3 separate regions of the Homo sapiens genome follow, and regions 2 and 3 are each linked to region 1. The links are contacts of gene promoters, found by promoter capture Hi-C in human tissues and cell types (Jung and others, 2019). All regions are on one chromosome and are shown on one strand. Each heading gives the region's core, a stretch centred on a gene start or on the middle of the fragment in contact. The rest is flanking DNA. Distances are from core to core; before and after follow the strand shown.

The links. Contacts are between HindIII fragments. The study calls those that stand out against the background at their distance.
Region 2: the fragment with the promoter of LCMT2 here is called in contact with the fragment with the promoter of PDIA3 in region 1 in 2 of the 25 tissues and cell types used here (liver and stomach).
Region 3: a contact is called between a fragment that was not itself captured here and the fragment with the promoter of PDIA3 in region 1, in 1 of the 25 tissues and cell types used here (hippocampus).

The regions. Positions count from the first base shown.
Region 1 is chr15:43,745,134-43,747,710 of GRCh38, forward strand. It overlaps PDIA3 (protein disulfide isomerase family A member 3), which reads left to right and starts at 1,305. Exons shown (of 13, transcript NM_005313.5): 1 at 1,305-1,573. The coding sequence starts at 1,407. It also overlaps the pseudogene CATSPER2P1. RefSeq lists a silencer at 1,021-1,320 and enhancers at 1,821-1,870, 1,881-1,930. The HindIII fragment of the contact is 12,404 bases long and covers 1-2,577 here.
Region 2 is chr15:43,329,270-43,331,846 of GRCh38, forward strand. It overlaps LCMT2 (leucine carboxyl methyltransferase 2), which reads right to left and starts at 1,304. Exons shown (of 1, transcript NM_014793.5): 1 at 1-1,304. The coding sequence starts at 1,220. MAPDA (N6-Methyl-AMP deaminase) reads left to right here and starts at 1,403. Exons shown (of 13, transcript NM_001324366.2): 1 at 1,403-1,590. RefSeq lists enhancers at 1,212-2,162, 1,395-1,444. The HindIII fragment of the contact is 18,030 bases long and covers 1-2,577 here.
Region 3 is chr15:43,441,537-43,444,113 of GRCh38, forward strand. It overlaps TP53BP1 (tumor protein p53 binding protein 1), which reads right to left. Exons shown (of 28, transcript NM_001141980.3): 15 at 1-47. Among named protein-coding and RNA genes, the nearest start is that of TP53BP1, 50 kb to the right of the region's middle. RefSeq lists an enhancer at 478-1,081. The HindIII fragment of the contact is 4,843 bases long and covers 1-2,577 here.

The sequences.
Region 1 (2,577 bases), core at 55-2,554:
TGCATCTGCCCTTCTTGTTGGTAAGCGGCCATGTCTGCTAAGAAAATGTAAGCATCAAGTGTCATTTCATTCTTGGAGCTGCACCAAGGATTACAGGTTTTCTGTCCCCTCCTCCCCACCCTCTTTGCCCTTAAGATTCCTTAATGTACCCACATCTACGAACTAGGAGCAGTTGGGCAGAACAAACATTCTACTAAGACTCAGGGTTTTTTGAAACAAAAGGGGCTAAGAGTGGTAAAGACATTGAGCAGTCGACCAAGTGGCCAGGCATCTTCACTTTGTGACGGCACTACCAATTAAAAGCTCATTAAAAAAAAAAAAAAAAAAAAAAAAAGTCCGGGCGTGGTGGCTCACGCCTGTAATTCCAGCACTTTGGAATGCCGAGGCGAGCGGATCACGAGGTCAGGAGATAGAGACCATCCTGGCTAACACGGTGAAACCCGGTCTCTACTAAAAATACAAAAAATTAGCCGGGCGTGGTGGCGGGCGCCTGTAGGCCCAGCTACTCGGGAAGCTGAGGCAGGAGAATGGCGTGAACCCGGGAGGCAGAGCTTGCAGTGAGCGGAGATCGCGCCACTGCACTCCAGCGTGGGGGACAGAGCAAGACGGCATCTCAGACAAAACAAAACAAAACAAAACAAGAAACTCAATAAAAAAGGAGCAGCCACAAGGGCAGGGGCCCGGGGCTGGACAAAGAAGAACCTGGGTCCCACCTGGGCCTGAGAGAATCGGGCAATGAGGTGGAGTTGGGGGAGGGCTTGGCCTGCCCACGCAAGAGAAACCAAGTGAAGAGAAATTGGACAAAATGCCAAAGCCTGACATTTTGAAAATGGGTCCCGTCCCAAGTGTGTCCACTCCAACACTCCTTCGGGGGCTAGCTCCTTCTCTCCTCCATTCTCGCTTCTGGGCCTCACCTCAGCCCAGGTTCTCTTCGCCCACTCAGTCCTGACTTCACGCTTCCACCTCCAGCTCAGGCGCCCCCTGAGCCCGGCTACCCCTACGCAGGACGAGCTCAGGGCCGGCTCCCAGCCTCACTGCGCCCCATTTCCCGCCCCGCCCGACCCCCAGGTTTCGGCTCACCCCGGGACCCGGCCCTAGCCCCTGCCCCCAGCCCAGGACCGGGCCCAGCCACGCTCGCCCAGACACTCGCCGCCTCGGCCCCGCCCCGCGCTCCGGCCACTCGGCGGTAACGAGTTGGTCCCGCCCGCCCGACGAAGGCGACGCGCAGCCAATCAGCGGCTGCCACACAGCGGCCCAAGCCGGGTTTGGGGGTTGGGACCTCCGGCTGCAGGTCCGCCTGGGCCAGACGCGCGAGCGCAAGCAGCGGGTTAGTGGTCGCGCGCCCGACCTCCGCAGTCCCAGCCGAGCCGCGACCCTTCCGGCCGTCCCCACCCCACCTCGCCGCCATGCGCCTCCGCCGCCTAGCGCTGTTCCCGGGTGTGGCGCTGCTTCTTGCCGCGGCCCGCCTCGCCGCTGCCTCCGACGTGCTAGAACTCACGGACGACAACTTCGAGAGTCGCATCTCCGACACGGGCTCTGCGGGCCTCATGCTCGTCGAGTTCTTCGCCCCCTGGTGAGTCCATTCTGCCGAGGCGGGGGAAGAAAGGCGGGGCTGGGCCGGGGGCGAGAGCGCGGGGAACTGTTGGGCCTACGCAGCGCCGGGGCCCTTCATTCCTGTGGGCCCCTGCTGCGGCGGGCACATTTCTCATTCCCGGGAGCTGGAGGCGCCTCGCCGAGAGCGGGGGAGTCGGTGCTGATCGGCCCAAGGAAAACCCGAAGGCTGCGCTCACGCAGGGCCTCATCCTTATCTCGGTGCTCTTGTGGCACTTCCTATTTGCAGAGGGTTTTGCCACCCCTTCCCCCAGTCCAATATGTAGCTATATCTTTTCTGCGTGAGTCAGTATTAATGCTCCTCCAGTCTACAGACTAGGCATCCCAAAGCCTTGTAGTGGAAGCGGACGTTTCACCAAATGCAGAAGTCCTGGATCCCTAGGGTATTTCCTTTCATCTTACCTCACGCCGCACAGCCATTGGTTTCTAGCCAAGGTCACTGAGTGGCTGCAGAATGGTCGTAAGTGCTTTCTTGAGGCAGGTAATTTGTCCGTCACATGGTGTACAGTTTCTCCCTTCAGCTGATCACTTACATCTCAGTACCGGCAGATACCTCTGTCCAAACGAAAGGAGTACGTGAACAAGAATAATTCCATCAGAATCTGTCCATATTGTCTGTTTTAAATAGCATTTCTTTAAAATGTCAAAAAAGACTCCAATGAGAAAATAACCAATATTGATTACATACTCCACTTTAGGGTGACTTAAGTGATCAAGGGTGTAAATTCCTTAGATAGAACTAACTCGAAATAAAAAACTGTTGGGGAGAAGGAAGAGCAAATAAGATTTCTGGCCCAGTCAACTTGAGTGTTTGTTTTTTTTTTTTATTTGTGTGTGTGTGTGTTTTTAAACCTCCAGATCATTACCAGAGTAAACAGTGATTCCTTTATCCTGGGGATAGCTCTCTATATATAATTCAATATATATAATTACAGTACTTAATTTTTCCCCTCCTGGCACAGTGAC
Region 2 (2,577 bases), core at 54-2,553, 420 kb before region 1:
CTGCCTATTTGGCTGCCTTTCCATTCAGAGTCACAATCTCTTGAGAGCAAGTGAAACTGGCTCACTCGGCAGTGCCGCCCCTCCTGCTCTCCAAATCCTCCTGCACTGAGAATAACGTCTGGGCTCAAGAAGACAGAGGCGTGGCCATATCTCTTCAGGTTTGGGACCTGGCCCTCGCTACTGACTACGCTGGCAGGGAATACCCCTGAAGGCGAAGCAGGATTTACGCGAGGAAATGCCTCTGAGGATGGAAACACTAGGGTGTGGGAGAGGGTGTCTCCCCTAGAAGCTGCCAGAATGAAATAATGGGCGCACTTCAGATGCCACTCCTCAAATTCGTCAAAGGGTTCAATATTTTCCACCCGCCGGCGTTCTTCTGCGGGAAGAAAGCAGTGATAGAATTCATTCATGTCCACGGCACCGCAGGCGGTCCAGCCAGCTTGAAGGAAGCGGCGCCGCTGCGCCTCCACGTCAGGAAAACGCTCCAGGCCATGCAGGGGGGAGTTTAGCTGCCGAAAATGTTGCAGCATGAACTGGCCAAAGGCGTCTTGAGGCCTCATCTGCTCATAGACCACGAAAAGGGCATTAGGAAAACGCTGGGCTGCCCAGGCGATGAGGGCCGCGGCACTCTCCGGCTCGAGGTAGGTCAGCACCGCCTCGGCCAGGAGCAGAGTGGGTGAGGCTGCGTCGAGCCCCGCGGCGCCCAGGGCCTCCTCCACTCGCTGGAGCTGCCGCAAGTCCAGACCCAGGATGCAGTAGTCTGCGCTCTCAAAGCACAGCGCGGACGCGGGCTCCCCCCTCTCGAAAGGCCCGGTTAACGCGCACAGCTCTGGCGTCTCTCCAATCCTTTCTGCTTTGCGCCGCGCCACGTCCGGAAAATCCACCTCCCAGACTGCAGCCCGGGCCAGGCGGCCCGCGGTTTTTAAGCGAAAATAGAGCGAGTCGAAGCCAGCGCCGAGAGACAAGATCTGCGCGCGAAGCGCGGCCTGGGGCGCGCCAATCTGCTCCAAAAAAGCGCGCACGCAGTGCCTCACGGCGCGTGCGCGGACGTAGTAGCCTCGGTGAATGAGCGGTGCGCGGCGCGCCGCGCCCGGAACCAGCAACGCGGCAAAGGGGTCCTGCACGTACCCGCGCGCGGCCAGGGAACGCTTGCTGAGGGCGCTGCTGTCGTTGGTGTTCTGTACCGCGCCTGCCCGACGCTCACGGCTCCGGGGGCCCATGGCCAGAAGAGACTCAGGAATGGCAGTCTGTCACGGTTGTGAGCCGCCCCTTGGTTAGCACACACCTCACGGACCTCGGTAGGGGGAAAAAAACCACCCATGCTCCTGGACTTCCCCTTCCGCCGGCACTTGTGCGTCACTTCCGGGAAGAGCGCATCTCGCCAACCAGAATTGAGGAGGGTGTAGCCAGTGCTAAGTTCGCTTGCGGCTGACCTTTCTTTGGAATGTCGTGAGTTCCATTTGTCCCAGAATACGGTCCGCTACCGCTGTGACATGAGTGTTAGGGAAGGCGGGTTGTCACGTTTCTACAAGCCTTCCAGTCAAAAGGGAAACCTTGCCTAAGTCCTTGTAGTTGAGAAATCTCTAAGAGGTGAGTCTGTGGGGACTGACGACTTGGCTTCCTTGGACCGCCAAGGAAGGGTCTGGTAGGAGCCAAGAAGGGTCGGCACCACGGACCTTCAGTAGGCAAGGATTAGTTAGCTTCCTTGGGTGCTAATAGTTGCTGATTTATTTAATGCTCTCACAGTTGCAAAAGAGAACCCCATTTAAAACTTGAAAACAAGTCACTAAGGCCAGGGTGCAAACTGAAGAAACCGACCTTTACAAATAATTTATAGACACCTAACAAGAAGACGTTTCCCCACAGATAGTAGACTGTTGATTCCCTTGTATTCCCAGCCCTATGTTAGACTGACGGTGAATAAACCACTCAGCCTCTCTTTCTCATCACACCGCCTTGGAGAATTCTGTGGATTTTAAAGTAGTGTTGAATATGTCCCCAGAAAGGGGAGTCACTGAAGAGAGGTGATTGTTCCCTGTGATATGTTCTGAGCTTTGTTTTTAAGGAGTAAATCCAGGTTAGACTTCAGAATAATCATAAAGTTTCTAAATTGGGTGTCTGGGAGTCATCCATAGGAAACCACTTCCAGAGACATTTAGGAAATTTATCATTTGTTCACTGGGATTTGGTGACTGACTGGCTGAAATAGAAAAGGAAATCAGATAACTTTATGGTTAACTACAGGTGGTACTGCATAATGGTTAAGAGTGTGAGTTTTGGAGTCCAGCAGATTTGGATACTGGAGTCAAGAAAAAGTTTCGTATTTTCCAATGTTTTCTTGTGGAACAAAATGAAATAAGAAAGAAAAGGTTTGGATCAGGATAAAGATTCGGTAATTGAAAAGTGACATTTAGATTTGGTGTTTAAAAGCTCATTAATGGCCTTAGGGAGAGCAGTTTCTGTGGAGCAATAAGGGCAGAATCCATGTTTCAGTGAATAGGAGGTGAGTTAAAGGAGGTATCCAGTCTAAATTATTATACTTTCGAGGAGCTTAACTCAGAAGGAAAAAAGGGTCAG
Region 3 (2,577 bases), core at 43-2,542, 300 kb before region 1:
CTCAGCAACAGCAGTAGATCCATTTTTTCTTTCACCAGTTGCAGGCTCTGAATAAAAACAAAACCAAGGAGAGAAAGGAAAGAGAAACAGAATTTAGTTAGTATCACACCTAAACCTTCACTCTGCTCTACTAGTATTTGCAAAAAATAACAAAAAGAAATAAAAATAAGTAAAACTAGTAAGTATAAACATACAAACATTTCTTGTAATTTTATTTATTTATTTCTTTATTTTGAGACAGTCTCACTCTATCACCCAAGCTGGAGGGCAGTAGCGTGATCTCAGCTCACTGCAACCTCCGCCTCCTGGGTTCAAGCGATCTCCTGCCTCAACCTCCCGAGTAGCTGGGACTACAGGCATGCGCCACCACGTCCAGCTAATTTTTTGTATTTTTTAGGAAAGACAGGGTTTTGCCAAGTTTCCCAAGCTGGTCTCAAACTCCTGAAATCAAGTGATCTGCCAGATTTCTTGTTTTTTGTTTGTTTGTTTTGAGACAACAGTCTCGCTCTGTCACCCAGGCTGCAGTGCAGGCCAGATTTGTTTTAATTTTTTTTTTTTTTTTTTTTTGAGACAGAGTCTCACTCTGTCGCCCAGGCTGGAGTGCAGTGGCGCAATCTCGGCTCACTGCAAGCTCTGCCTCCCGGGTTCACGCCATTCTCCTGCCTCAGCCTCCCCAGCAGCTGAAACTACAGGTGCCCGCCACCACGCCCGGCTAATTTTTTTGTATTTTTAGTCGAGACGGGGTTTCACCGTGTTAGCCAGGATGGTCTCAATCTCCTGACCTCGTGATCCGCCCGCCTCGGTCTCCCAAAGTGCTGGGATTACAGGCAAGAGCCACTGTGCCCGGCTGGCTATTTCTTGTAATTTAATGGTACAAGTTTTTCTCACTTCCACCAATCAATTTTCTTTCAAACTTCCTATAAAAGACTAATAAGATTGGCAAGAAATACAATACAATGAGTAACTTTTTTTTTTTTTGGAGACAGAGTCTTACTCCGTTGCCCAGGCTAGAGTGCAGCGGCGTAATCTCGACTTGCTGCAACCTGTGTCTCCTGGGTTCAAGCGATTCTCATGCCTCACCCTCCTGAGTAGCTGGGATTACAGGTGTGCACCACCACACCCAGCTAATTTTTGTATTTTTAGTAGAGATGGGGTTTCACCATGTTGACCAGGCTGGTCTCAAACTTCCGACCTCAGGTGATTCACCCGCCTCAGGTTCCCAAAGTGTGCTGGGATTACACATACGAGCTACGACACCTAGCCCTTAGCAGTAATATTCTTTTTTTTTTTTTTTTTTTTTTTTTTTGGAGACAGAATCTCACTCTGTTGCTCAGGCTGGAGTGCAGTGGCATGATCTCAGCTCACTGCAACCTCCGCCTCTCGGGTTCAAGAGATTCTGCTGCCTTAGCCTCCCGAGTAGCTGGGATTACAGGTACCTGCCACCATGTCCGGCTAATTTTTATATTTTTAGTAGAGATGGGGTTTCACCATCTTGGCCAGGCTGGTCTCGAACTCCTGACCTCAGGTGATCCACCCACCTCAGCCTCCCAAAGTGCTGGGATTACAGGCATGAGCCACCACACCCGGCCAGCAGTAACATTCTTAAATGAAAATTAAACTTCTGAATCCAAATTCATCTCTGCCCATATAAGAAGTTAAAAAAGTATGTAATAATACAAAATTAAAAACCAAAAACTTTTTAAAATTTATATCATATTAAAAACAAATTAAAAATAAAAGAACTTAATAAAATAAGTAGAAAATATTTTAGGTTGATGAACTAATTTTAAATAGTTTTTAGAGCACCCACAAATAGAAGGTACCCAAGTTCTTCCCAAAGTGCTTTAGGACAGACACTTCAAAAACAAAGGGTGGCCAGGCACGGTGGCTCACTCATGTAATCCCAATACTTTGAGAGGCCAAGGCAGGAGGATCGCTTGAGCCCAGGAGTTCAACACCAGCCTGGCTAACATGGCGAAGCCCCATCTCTATAATAAATACAAAAATTAACCAGGCATGGGTGGTGGGCGTGCCTGTAGTCCCACCTACTCAGGGGGCTAAGATGGGAGGATCGCTTGAGCCTGGGAGATGGAGGCTGCAGTGAGCTGAGATCACCCCATTGCACTCCAGCCTGGGTGACAGGGAGAAGCCCTGTCTCAACAACAATAACAACAAAAAGAAACAAAAAGGACATTTTCAAGAACATGCAGCAACAGATTAAAGGTCGTACTGAAAAAAATCCCATATTCTCACAACAATGTCACTAATTTCAAGGGATTAAAATTTGTTCATTTACAATTTATACCAGCCTTAGAGAAAACAACCCTTAAATGGTTTTTAATTATTTCTAAAATATTCATGACCCAACATAATCTAAACAGTCCATCAGGGAGGCAGCTGAAATTCAGTTGGAGCCCTGGCTCTGAAATAGAAACCTGGCTCACACCCTGGCTATTGCACTTAATAGTCCAACCTAGGAGTAAACTACTTTGTCATTTTGAGTCTCAGTGTCCTCCTCTATAAGATAAAAACACAACAAACCTAAAAAGTTTGTTGTAAGGATGAAATGATGTAAGT